Linked DNA regions of Homo sapiens: regions 2 and 3 are each linked to region 1. Evidence: promoter capture Hi-C in 16 types of primary human blood cells and fetal thymus (Javierre and others, 2016). All regions are on one chromosome and are shown on one strand. The core of a region is centred on a gene start or on the middle of the fragment in contact, and the rest is flanking DNA. Distances in the headings are between cores, read along the strand shown. Region 1 holds the start of NUBP1 (NUBP iron-sulfur cluster assembly factor 1, cytosolic). Region 2 overlaps TMEM114 (transmembrane protein 114). Region 3 holds the start of CPPED1 (calcineurin like phosphoesterase domain containing 1).

The links. The method cuts DNA at HindIII sites, captures the fragments that hold promoters and counts their contacts. A CHiCAGO score of 5 or more calls a contact.
Region 2: a fragment that was not itself captured here is called in contact with the fragment with the promoter of NUBP1 in region 1 in 1 of 17 cell types (total CD8 T cells); the score reaches 5.6 in total CD8 T cells.
Region 3: the fragment with the promoter of CPPED1 here is called in contact with the fragment with the promoter of NUBP1 in region 1 in 1 of 17 cell types (activated CD4 T cells); the score reaches 5.8 in activated CD4 T cells.

The regions. Positions count from the first base shown.
Region 1 is chr16:10,741,899-10,746,281 of GRCh38, reverse strand. It overlaps NUBP1 (NUBP iron-sulfur cluster assembly factor 1, cytosolic), which reads right to left and starts at 2,440. Exons shown (of 11, transcript NM_002484.4): 1 at 2,400-2,440; 2 at 2,217-2,321. The coding sequence starts at 2,418. RefSeq lists an enhancer at 2,582-2,631. The HindIII fragment of the contact is 1,155 bases long and covers 1,869-3,023 here.
Region 2 is chr16:8,565,667-8,570,049 of GRCh38, reverse strand. It overlaps TMEM114 (transmembrane protein 114), which reads left to right. Exons shown (of 4, transcript NM_001146336.2): 4 at 45-550. The coding sequence ends at 277. Among named protein-coding and RNA genes, the nearest start is that of TMEM114, 23 kb to the left of the region's middle. The HindIII fragment of the contact is 2,900 bases long and covers 430-3,329 here.
Region 3 is chr16:12,801,838-12,806,220 of GRCh38, reverse strand. CPPED1 (calcineurin like phosphoesterase domain containing 1) reads left to right here and starts at 2,334. Exons shown (of 4, transcript NM_018340.3): 1 at 2,334-2,514. The coding sequence starts at 2,445. RefSeq lists a silencer at 2,253-2,302 and enhancers at 2,383-2,752, 4,075-4,154. The HindIII fragment of the contact is 13,841 bases long and covers 1-4,383 here.

The DNA of each region.
Region 1 (4,383 bases), core at 1,191-3,690:
GTATCTGCCAATGAAACTATCTTATTTCAAATCCTTAAAACAATACACGAGGTATAAAGGAAATTAAAAAGTCTCATGACTGGCCAAACTCAAGTGAAAGTTAAGCCTGGAAACCTCCCAACACTGCTGTCCTCCTCCCCATCAACAGACAGCTGTTACTTCCCAACCTTGTGTCAAAGCATTCTACATTAACCAGACACCTGCAAAAGGCCAAAGGCCCCATGCAATCCATTGTGGGATGACTGCCCTCACAAGTTGCTCCTAAGGAACTCCTTTGCTGGCCCCTAAATCTTTGAAGATGAGTATCCTCCCATAAACAAGGACATGCCAACTGTAACTTTAGGACTGTAACCTCAGTCTAACTCCTTCCCTATTACTGATGTCTGTTAAACGCCACACTGACCATGTCCATTACAAGCTTATCCTCCCACATGCCAAACAAAGATGGGATGAGATAGTCCTTCCTCTCCTACCCTGAGACGTCTGCCTAATTAATTCTTCCTTTATTCCCTCTTTTGAATGTTTACTTTATTTTCTGAATAGTGTAGATATACTGGGCACGAATTAAAACCTCACAAGAATGTAACTACCTGCCACGAGGCCTACTGCACTTTTTCCTGCATGCTTTTTCCCCTTTTAATGAAATATATAAACACCAGCCTTCTGGAACCACTCCATCGAGCACAGGCCACAGATGTTTCTGTCACTTGTATTTTCCAGGGCACGCCCTCAAGCTCTGGCCCAATAAACCTCCACTGAGGCTCAGTTCAGTCTCTCCATTGCATTGACAGAGATAACTATTTTTCTCTTCATTTTTTTTTTTCTTTGAGACAGGGTCTCACTCTGTCACCCAGGCTGGAGTGCAGTGGCACGATCTCAGCTCACTGCAACCTCCACCTCCCGGGTTCAAGTGATCCTCCCACCTCAGCCTCGAGGGCGGGCATGCACCACCATGCTGGCTAATTTTTGTATTTTTAGTAGAGACAGGTTTCACCATGTTGGCCAGGCTGGTCTCGAACTCCTGACCTCAAGTGATCCATCCACCCGCCTCGGCCTCCCAAAGTGCTGGGATTACAGGCGTGAGCCACTGCACCCGGCCTGTCTCCATTTTTGATGAGGAACCAGAAGCTCAGAGAGGTTAGGACTATTGCTGAAGGTCACACCGCATGGATCCAAGAATCAAATCCAAGTCTCTCTCTGAACTCCTTCAAGATTCTCCCCCTTGGCCAGGTGCAGTGGCTCATGCCTGTAATCCCAGCACTTTGGGAGGCCCAGGCAGATGCATCACTTGAGGTCAGGAGTTCGAGACCAACCTGGTCAACATGGTGAAACTCTGGTTCTACTAAAAATATAAAAATTAGCCAGCCGTGGTGGCAGGCGCCTGTAGTCCCAGGTACTCGGGAGACTGAGGCACGAGAATCGCTTGAACCTGAGAGGTGAAAGTTGCAGTGAGCCGAGATCACACCACTGCACTCTGGTCTGGGCTACACAGCAAGACTCTGTCTAAAAAAAAAGGGGGAAAAAAAAGAAAAAAAAATATTGTCCTCCTGCCTCCTGCTTTTTAAGGTCCTTCTGAGCAGGCTCCCTGGGTCCTCTCATCCTGGAATCTGTGCTTCACAGCACTTAAAGCTGCGGTGGTTTAGTTGCTAGCTCACGTGTTTGTTTCCCCAGTAAAGCTAAACTCCACTAGAGCAGTGACCACGCCTGATCCCCAGCTGTGTCCCCAGGACAGCACCAAACCTACGAGGCGATCAACACATTTCTGCTGAATGAGTGGGAGAATCACTCCTCAAAAGGAAGAAAATTGTGTCAAGAAAGTAGCTGGCAGAGCCAGGATGTAAGTCCGAAGACTCCCCGACTTCGAAGCTTATCCCGTTTTTCTCTGCGGTCTGTTATTGTCACTCAAACCTCTGGCCCCGACCCTCTTAATTAATGTCCCTTTCGACTCCGCGCCGGTCAGTCTCCACCCTCCATCCGCGCCAGGTCCTTCGCGCTCGCCTTCTAAAGGCCTCGTTCCTGTCAGTCATTCCAAGCTCCGCCCTCACCCTGCCCACTTTCCACGCCCCGCCCCTTCTGGGCCCCACCCCTCTCCGAATACAATACCTTCTAGCCTGCCGCTGTCAGTCATTCTGCAGATCCCGCCCCCTCCCTCCCACGCCCCGCCTTTTCCGGGCCTGCGCCTCTAAGTTCCTGTTGAGGCCTTGCCCTTTTCTCACCCGTGTCCGGAGTGGCCCCCGCTCCAGAAGCGCACAGCCGCTGGTTGGGGCATCCCTGACATGAAGCCCCTCTGCCCGCCTGGGCGCTGTCGGCCCCTGGACAGTCTGCGCAGAGACAAGACCACAGTTAGAGCAGCTCCCGACACTTTCGCCCCGCGACCCACGCCCCCTCCGCGAGCTTACCGTGAGGCACCTCCTCCATTCCGTCGCCTTTGCCGCCTTCGTGGTCACCGGAACCCGCTGTCGTACATTTCCGCCTTGTGGGCACAATCTGATTCTCCGACCGCGCGAAATAAGTCTCGGAAAGGGGGCTGTGCGCACGCGCGAACCTTGGGCCGAAAGACTGGGACTCAACGTCTGTTCCTTTTCAGAGATTTCCTATCATAAATACTTCTGCAGTGCATCTCCTAAGAACAAAGCCATTCTTCATGACATCAGTGCCATTTTCATACCCAAGAGATTTAATATCGATGCAGTACTAGCCAATGCAGTATTAGCCAATAGACAGTTTATATTTCAATTTCAGTTGTTAGACCCCCTCCCCTGCTGGATTCACTCACTGCCTGGAGTTATTTCTCTTCGGTCTCCTTTAATTCAGATCAGTCCTTCTTTTTTTAGGGGGGGTCTCATCACCTTGATAATTTTGACGGGTCCAGACCAGTTGTGTAATAGAATATCCCATATTCTTGATTTGTCTAATCCTCCCCTCCCTCTTGCCTTGTAATTAGATAAAGGTTAATTTTTCTTTTTTCCTGCAGAACACACTTGGATAATGTCAGTTTGTCCCGTTTTTGGTAATGTGAAGCTTGATCGCTTGCTAAAGGTGGTGTCTGCCCCATTTCTCCATTTAATGTTTCCTTCTTCCATTTGTAATTAACAGGTACTCTCTGGGACCATCTTCTTCTCTATCAGCCTTTCACTCAGTGATTTTAGCAGCATTTATATATATATATATAAAACTATAGATTATATATATGATAAATATATATCAGTTTTATACCCTCTCTTTTTTTCTTTTTTTTCGAAGACTCACTATGGATTCCTGGATTTTTTAAAATTGTCTTTTATAATCAATTATTATTCTTTCTGGTCGATTTTTTTTCCCCCAGATGTGGCCAGTGAAGCCCCTTCAAGACAGTTCTTATGTTCTTTGGGCACTAATCCAGCTTCTTTGAGCATTTTCTTGCTTTCTGATACAAGATGTTTCAGTCATCCCTTCTCCCTGCTGCAGTCATTTCTTCAGGGAGCCTTGGTTACTTTTTAGCAGACAACAGTTCAGAAACCAAGATGTGGATGCCACAAATGCTCATTGCTACTGGAGTGTCATTGCTCACAGGTTTGGCACCTGGAATATTAATGAGTGAACAAACTTTACCTAGCCCCAGACACTAAGAATATGGAAACGTTTATTTATTTATTTATTTTTGAGGCGGATTCTCGCTCTGTCACCCAGGCTGGAGTGCAGTGGTGGGATCTCGGCTCACTGCAAGCTCCGCCTTCTGGGTTCACGTCATTCTCCTGCCTCAGCCACCCGAGTAGCTGAGACTACAGGCCACCACGCCCGGCTAATTTTTTGTATTTTTAGTAGAGACAGGGTTTCACCATGTTAGCCAGAATGGTCTCGATCTCCTGACCTCGTGATCTGCCCGCCTTGGCCTCCCAAAGTGTTGGGATTACAGGCATGAGCCACCGCACCCGGCCTCGGAAACATTTATTAAACAGCAGTGTATCAGCTGCCTGTCACTACCACTAATTATAGCCAGCATTTTGTAGAATACTTACCGTTTGGCAGCTGTCATCTTTGTGCTTTCATGTGAATTACCTAATTTATGTCCTTTCATAGTCCTACTGTCTCCATTTTTGGATAAGGAAACTGAGGCTTAAAGTAAACTACTTTCCCGAGGTCGCATGACTGGTAGCAGGGGAACCAGGGTGATAAACTTGGTCTGTCTGGCTGCAGAGCCTGCACTTAGTAACACATGGTCCCAGCCAGCACTGGGCTAGATGCCAATGATTCCAGACTAACCTGGACCCTGCCATCTGGAGCACAGTCTGGTCGGGAGAAGAGGACCAGAGTGATGGGGCATCAGCAAAGGCCTGGAGAGCAGAGAGGAAGTCACCTATCAGGTAGGGACTGTTGTCATTTCCGTTTTACAGGTGATAAGAT
Region 2 (4,383 bases), core at 630-3,129, 2.2 Mb after region 1:
GCGGGGTGGGGGATTGATCTGCTCTCCCTTTGCCCTCCCTGCAGCCATGGTGACCCTCGCTGGGATCAGCGTCTACATAGCGTATTCAGCCGCCGCCTTCCGGGAGGCGCTGTGTCTCTTGGAGGAGAAGGCCCTCCTGGACCAGGTGGACATCAGCTTCGGCTGGTCCCTGGCCCTGGGCTGGATCAGCTTCATCGCCGAGCTGCTCACCGGGGCAGCCTTCCTGGCAGCAGCCCGCGAGCTCAGCCTGAGACGGAGGCAGGACCAGGCCATATGAGCCTGGGCGCTGGGTCGTGGAGGGGAGGGAGGGGCTTGGCCCCGGAGCTTCACCGACCGATCTCCATCGGCTGCGGCCTCTTCTTCCTCAAAGGCCACTCGGGGAGGCCAGGCACCCCCCTCCTTCCCCCACAAATCCCCGCGGACTAAGCTTGGGGCCTGGCTGTTATCCTAGTACCTGTGTGCTTATGTCCGTGTGTGTCCGTGTGGCCTGGAGGAGCCCGAGGGAGTGCCAAACCGCTTCGCGAGAAATAAAAACGATCCTTTAATCACACACAGAGCTTTACAGATTGCAAAGTCCTCACGCCCCCTCCGACTTCATTTCCTCCTCACCCATGTCCCTTGGATCAGCTCCTTGGTGGGTCTGGGAAAGGGAGAGGGTGCCCTACCTCCTGGGCCCTGTAATGCGTTCAGCTCTCTCTGGGGAGCTCTGGCCTGGAGTTCCTTTTGCTCTAAAATAACTCTGGCATGACATGGGCTTTCTACGGGGTCAGGTTAGGTCTACAATATGAAGCTGCGAGACTCCCAAGGGGTTGGCCAATTGATAGAGCACTCTTCAAGACTAATCATACCTTTTCCGTCCTCCCCCAGAAAAATCCATCCCTCCTTTCATCCTGGTGTTCTGCCCCTGGGAATGGGCTCCCCATCCGGGTCCCCTGGGGCAGTGCTGTTCACATTTAGCGCGCCCCAGACTCTATGGGCTTGTTGATACTCTCGGGCTGATGCCACCCCCAGGGTGTCTGAGCCAGGAGGCCTGGGTGAAGCCCAAAAACTCACATTTCTAAGTGGCTTCCAGGCGATGCCGAGGCTTCTGGCCCAGAGCCACTGTTTGCATAAATGCCGAGGTGGGGCGTTTATTAAGTGACAGAGAAGGGTTGTCATCTTGCTGCTCTTAGAATCACCTGGGTATCTTCCAAAAATCCTGCTGCTGTCTACATCCTTGATCTGATATTCTCTAGGGCTGGTGTCCAGGCATCAGTGTTTTTTAAGAGCTCTCCAGCCTATTCTAACCCAAAACCATGGCTGAGATTCTGTTCCTGCAAGATTCCAAGTCATGAGATGTAGGGGAGGGCCCGAGGAGCCTTTGGCTTAGGAAACTCTGGGAGGTGCTGATGGTTTGGGGAATACTGGTGTGGATTAAAAGATGACAACACGATTATCAACAATATGGCATCATCGTCTTCATCATGACATCATCATCACCATGACGTCAACACTGTCATCATCATAGCTGACACCCACTGAGTACTTTCTATGCACCTGTGCTATTCTCCATGCCAGTCGGTCAGTCAGTCATTCAACAAACATCATGACATCATCACCACCATGCCATGACATCACCACCACAACGACATGACACCACCATGACATCAGCATTGTCATCATTATAGCTGACATCCACATCTATGCACCTGTGCTATTCTCCACGCCAGTCGGTCAGTCAGTCATTCAACAAACACTCAAAGGAAGGCCAGTACACACCAGCAACTGGGGGGGCAATGACTCCTCCAGACCCAGACCTTGCTCTCTGGGGTGCCACATGATTGAGGAGAGAGAGGCATATGAAATACGTAGCCCGTGGTGAGGACTAGGAGATAAGCAAAGCAGGGTACAGATGAGGAAACTGAGGCACTGGCAGGTTAACATAACTGGACTAAGGGCATAAGGAGAGAAAGGGACGCAACTGGGAGTAAACTTCAGAACTGCCTGATCCCAAGATGGTCCTCCCCCTACTTCCACCAACGCCTGCACTTCTTTACTGGCTGTCTGCTCCTTTCAGGACGTTGCTGCGACGTCCCTGTCTAATCCGGAAAGGCGCAAAAGGAGTGGGTTACTCACATGGCCACATGGGGCTAAATGAGCGCTGTTGGAAAATCAGTTACAATGCTGGGGAAAACAAAGTTTTTGCAAAGTGAGGGCAACCATGCTACCGAAAGGGCGGTCTCTGCTTCCACCTGCTGGTCGTATTGTGGAACTGCTCCAGAGGCAGGATTTGATCCCCAAATTCGTCAAGAGACACGTTTTCAGCCCTCCTAGCGCCCAAGTGCTGGATTAAATACTGCAGGGCCAGAGTTCTCAGCTGGGGCGATTCTCTCCCCCACCTGACATTTGGCAGTGTTTGGAGACAGTTTTGGTTGTTCTTAGTGCGTGTGGGGAGTGGTATTACCGGCAGCTCCAGTGGGAAGAGGCCAGGGATGCTCCTCGCATCCTATGATGCTCAGGACATCTGGTCCCACACGTCCACCTTGGGACATGCTGAGACACTCTGCTAAGCGAGCAATAATGGACAATAACAAACCAAAACATGTGTGCACCTCAGGAACTGACAACACAGAATAAGCTCATTCATTCGCCCATCCATTCATGCATTTGATAAATGCTTGCCAGATACCTACAGTGTCAGAGACTGTTCCAGGGCCTGGGGACACATTCATGGGGGTGGCCAAGAAAATCTCCACCCTTCCTAGCTCACATGGGAACAGATGATAAACCCATGAACCAATAATCTATCTGAGAGATTCAGACAGTGATTAGTGTTATGAAGAAAACAAAACAGGGTGATGAGGCCGGGCGCCATGGCTCATGCCTGTAATCCCAGCACTTTGGGATGCCAAGACAGGCAGGTCACCTGAGGTCAGGAGTTCGAAACTAGCCTGGCCAACATGGTGAAACCCCATCTCTACTAAAAATACAAAAAAAAAAAAAATAGCCAGCTGTGGTAACACGCGCCTGTAATCCCAGCTACTTGGGAGGCTAAGGCAGGAGAATCACTTGAACCCAGGAGGTGGAGGTTACAGTGAGCCGAGATCGCACCATTGCGCTCCAGCCTGGGTGACAGAGTGAGACTCCATCTCAAAAAAAAAAAAAAAAAAAAACCAGGGTGATGGGATGAAAGGTGTCTGGTAGAGATGTGACTCCAGGAAGGACAATTAGAAAGGGCTTCTTGGAGGAGGTGACATTGTGCTGAGACCCGCATGAAGAACCTGTAGGTAGGGAAACTGCAGACCAGGCAGGTGACAGCAGACGCAAAGGCCCTGAGGTGGGAAGAAGCTTCTGTGTTAGAGGGAAATGAAGAGGGAGGGTTGATGGAGAGAAATAGGAGGTGAAGGTAGAGGCAGGGAGAGAGAAGGCAGTGGGCGATGCCCATGGCCCGTGGTAAGGAGGTGCTGATGATTAAGTGGGGTTGGGATGCTGTTCCATTCTGTTCTGTTCTGTTCTATCCTGATCCATTCTGATCTGTTCTATTCTGATCCATTCTGTTGTGTTCTGATCCATTCTGATCTGTTCTATTCTGATCCATTCTGTTGTGTTCTGATCCATTCTGATCTGTTCTCTTCTATTCTGATCCATCATTCTATTCTGACCTGTTCTGTTCTATTCTGATTTTTTTTTTTTTGAGACTGCGTCTAGCTCTGTCACCCAGGCTGGGGTGCAATGGCTCAATCTCGGCTCACTCCAACCTCTGCCTCCCAGGTGCAAGTGATTCTCCTGCCTCAGCCTCCCCAGTAGCTGGGACTACAGGCACGCACCACCATGCACCATGCCTGGCTAATTTTTTGTATTTTTAGTAGAAATGCGGTTTTACAGTGTTAGCCAGGATGGTCTCGATCTCCTGAGCTCATGATCCACCTACCTTGGCCTCCCAAAGTGCTGGGATTACAGGCGTGAGCCACCGTGCCTGGCCCGATCCATTCTGTTTCGATCTGTCCTGCCGTATTTTAATCCATTGGATTGGTTCTGTTCTATTCTGATCCATTTTGTTCTGATCTGTTCTGTTCCATTCTGTCTTGTCCTCTCCTCTTCTATTTTCTTATTCCACTTGGACTCTCTCTTGAGAGTGATATGCCTTTAAGACAGTGGTTCTCAACCCTGGCTCTACATTAGCATCACGTGGGGGTCCTATTTAAAAAACAACCAGTTGCTAGCACTGGGGCCCCAATGGAGCCAAATGCAATCAGACCCTCGAGGGCGGACCTGGGCATTGTTATGTTCACAAAGTTCCCCAGGTGATTCTGCTGTGCAGGGGAGGTAAGAACCACTGCTCTAAGACCCTTAGGTCTGTTGTGTGAACGGACCGGCCTGCAGGGGTGAGAGTGGTTGCAGGAA
Region 3 (4,383 bases), core at 1,085-3,584, 2.1 Mb before region 1:
AGGGAAATTAATTTGCATGTTTAATGAACTGAATGGCCAGTATGACTGCAAAGCTAGTGAATAAGAGGCAGGGTCTGTTTCTATAATTCATTCTCTCCTTCACATTTCTTTTAATTAAAAAAAATTTTTTAATAGAGATGAGTTCTCACTATGTTGCTCAGGCTGGTCTTGAACTCCTGGGCTCAAGTAATCCTCCTGCCTAAACCTCCCAAAATGCTGGGATTACAAGCATGAGCCATTGTGCTCAGCTTCCCCTTCACATTTTTTTTTTTTAAAGACACAGTCTCACTCTGTCGCTCAGGCTGGAGTGCAGCGGCGGGATCTCGGCTCACTGCAACCTCTGCCTCTCGGGTTCAAGTGATTCTCCTGCCTTAGCATCCCGAGTAGCTGGGACTACAGGCGTGCACCACCACACCCAGCTAATTTTTGTATTTTTAGTTGAGATGAGGTTTCACCATGTTGGCGAGGGTGGTCCCGATCTGTAGACCTCATGATCCGCCACCTCCACCTCCCAAAGTGCTGGCATTACAGGCCTGAACCATTGCGCCCGGCCTCCTTCACATTTCTTGGGACTCCTCCTCTGGGCCAGGCCATGTTCAGGGAATAGGGTTATAGTGATTGATTAATAATAACAATGGCTAATATTCATTGAGTACCTACCATTTGTTATTAGAACTATTATTCTAAGCACTTTGATACATGAACTCATTTAAGCCTTTCTGCAACCCTATGACCTAGATGCTACTATTGTTTCCATTTCACAGATAGGGAAACTGAGGCATAGAGAAACTATGCAATTTTCAAGAGCATACAACCAGTAAGTGGGTAGAACCGGGATTAATCCAAGCCCACTGACTCCAGGACTCATAGGCATTTATACTCTTAACCACTATGATTCATGGGTGACTCTTGTCAAGGATTAGAGAACAGTAGTTATGGCCATATTAGCTACTCAAACAGTGCTTTGGATGTAGGCAGCTAGTTTAGAAAAGAATTTCCCAAATTTGTAAGATCATAAGAGCTCCCCTGCAGTGCTTGTTAAAAACAGATCATTTTCAGGCCAGGCACTGTGGCTCATGCCTGTAATCCTAGCACTCTAGGAGGCCCGGGTGGGTGGATTGCTTGAGCTCAGGAGTTCCAGATCAGCCTGGGCAACATAGTCAAACTCGTCTCTACTAAAAATACAAAGTATTAGCCAGGCATGGTGGCGCACGCCAATAGTGCCAGCCACTTAGGAGGCTGAGGTGGGAGAATCACCTGAGCCCAGGAGATCGAGACTGCAGAGATTGTGCCACTGCACTCCAGCCTAGGCAACCAGAGTGAGACCCTGTCTCAAAACAACAACAACAACAACAAAACACAGATCATTTTCATAGAGATTTGGATTCAATAGGTCCATTCTGGAATTTGTATTTTCAACACGTTTGACAAATGCTGGCTAAGTAGTTCACTACAATGGCTCTTGAGTTGAAGAGACACTAATTTGGTTACTCGCAGCTTTACTACCTCTCTAGATGTGTGTCACCTTGTGCAAGTTCGTTCATCTCTCTGAGCGTCAGTTTCCCCAAATGACGGATGCAGCTAATAACAGCACCACCTCCTAGGGCTGTAGTGGGGATTAAGTGAGCAGCGTGCAAAGTGCTTAGCGCCCTGCCTGGTGCATAGCAAGCAAAGATAATAACAGAAAGATGGTGGCAGCCACTGGGAAGTTCAGGCTGAGACAGTCTTCCAAGACGTCCACCTTTTCATCTTTTTTTTTTTTTTTTTTGTATTGGCAAGGTCTCTCGCCGTGTTGCCCAGGCTGGTCTCCAACACCTGGACTCAAGCGATCCTCCCTCCTTGGCCTCCCAAAGAGCTGGGGTTACAGGCGTAAGCCACCCCAGTGGCTCCTTCTGACTTTATGATAGAGTTGTCAGATAAAAAAAAATCAGGACGCTTCCATTCAAACCTGCAAAAAGAGAAAAATTTAAAAAAATTAGGACGCCCAGTTCAATTGGAATTTCAGATAATGAAAAAAAAATTTAACGTAAGTAGCTCCCAAATACTGCATAGGACATATTTATACCAAGTCAGTCATTCTTTAAAAAAAAAAATCTGAAATTCCAATTTAACCGGGAGTCCTGCATTTTTACTTGTTAAATCTAGTAACTCTGCCTTTAGGGAAGGACTGACCCCAAAGCCTTATCCCCGCCCACGCGTGCCCTAGACAGTCTCCACTCGCCAGGCGCGCAGGTCGATCCCAGAGGGGCCGCTGGCGCCTCCGCTCCGCCCAGGCAGCACTAGTGGCGCCCCGAGCCACCGGGCCCCTCCCCGTCCCGCCCCAGTCCCGCCCCGAGATCAAAGGGCGTCGCCCAAAGCGGGACAGGTCCAGCGGTTGTTCTGTGTGAAGTCGCGCGGCTTCCACCCACGCAGTGTTCTAAGTGAAGGCCAGAAACTCGCTCGCCATGTCGGCTGCAGAGGCGGGGGGTGTTTTCCACAGAGCCAGGGGCAGGACCCTGGCCGCGTTTCCCGCAGGTACTGCCCGCCCCTCACCCGGGGAGGGGACTCTGGGGCTGCGGAACCTTCCGCCGGGGGAACCTTTTGTTCAGGTGTGCGCTCCGCCAGTCGGACACCATCCGGGGCTGCACCGGGGCCTGGGAGCCGCCATAGCTGCATCAAAGCCTGCTCTTAGGGATTCCAGGGGCGCAGTTGAGAGGCGAGGCCGAGAGAGCGATCTGGTCTAGGAGCCTCCTTGGCCTTGACCTAACTTCCCCCAGAGAAGGGAAGTAAGAGGAGGGTAGCAAAGCATAGTTAATGACAGCTTGGACTCTGCAGCGAGACCTGGTTTCCAAGCTGTGCATTAGCATCTTGGCCTCAGCTTCCACATCTGTGAAACGGGAATACTTGTGGGTGTTACTGGATAAGCGTTCGGTGCATGTTAGAGGGTGTCGGTTTTATTAAGGTTGTTCACCGTTATGTATTCTGTACTCCATAATGACGTTTATTTAAGTCATTCACCGAAATGGTAACACTGCCCCATCAGAGCAGTAGAGAGGGAGGGCATTCGAGAGTCGTAGTGAAGTGCTTGGATTTTGGATTTAGATTATCTGCTTTGCCTTAAAAATGGGTTTGATAATACCTGCCTCATAGGGTTGTTGGAAGCGTAAACAGATCAAAAGTATTTTTGTAACCCGGTGTTGGACGCATGCTAGGTGCTAAGTAAAGAGGGAGGTTTGTTTCTGGTTTGTTGATTCCCCTCTGTGGCTTTTTGCTGCCTGCAGCCAGATCGCCTCCCAGGCTCTCACCAGCTTTATACCCCCAGGGAAGTCACCCTAAATGCCCTATATGATCAGGCTTGTGTCCACTTCCTTCAGGGTTGTCATTCTCTCTCTTGCCCAGTTCTGCAACAGGTTTTGTTGTTGCCCTTGTTTGAACTGCATTTAAAAGGGCCAAGGCCGTTCTTTCCCTGAGGGTCTTGGCGCTTGCTGTTTTCTGCTTCTTTAGCAGGGTTGGTGAGCCTGGCTCTCTCAACCGTCACACCTCATTTTAAAGTTCATTCACTTCCTCAGAGACTTTACCTGCTACCTTATCTAAAGTAGGTTTCTCCGGTAATTCTATGGTAAAACCTTATTTATTCATTTAAGGCGGAGTCTTGCTTTATTGCCCAGGCTGGAGTGCAGTGGCACGATCTTGGCTCACTGTAACCTCCGCCTCCCGGGTTCAAGCGATTCTCCTGCCTCAGCCTCTGGAGTAGCTGGAACTATAGGCACGCACCACCACGCCCGGCTAATTTTGTATTTTTAGTAGAGATGGGGTTTCTCCATGTTGGCCAGGCTGGTCTCGAACTCACAACATCAGGTGATCCGCCGTCCTCAGCCTCCTAAAGTGCTGGGATTACAGACCTGAGCCACCGCGCCCGGCCTGGGACGACTGTATTTTAATGGACCTTGTCTTTTTTGTCCAACATGAAGATTTTGCTCTTTTCTTGCTGGGCAACATTCCATTGGATGATTATATACCTTATACATTCTGTTGATGTATATGCTGAATATCTTCCCTTTGCCTCTCCAAACCTTTCTCCCTTCCCCACCATGCCCCAGGGGTTTGCCCTCCGTGAGCTACATCGGTGGGCTCCTTGCCTTTTGGTTTTCCTTTGGGCTCAGCCAGTGGGGAGCCCTGAGAAGAAATCAGAGCAGGGAGAGAAGCAAAAGGCAGCTGTATTTATTCTTGCAGTTTACTCTGTGGGGTTGCCTCGCCTGGCTGTCTTCCTCCCCACCCCTGAAGGTCAAGGTCGCTCCTTTTCTCAGGACAGCTTTTCTCCTCATTCTCTCTAGTTCTGGATTTGAGTAACCATTTCCTCCTTTGAGGCGTGGGAGTGGCAGTGGTTCTGCTTTTCTAACCTTG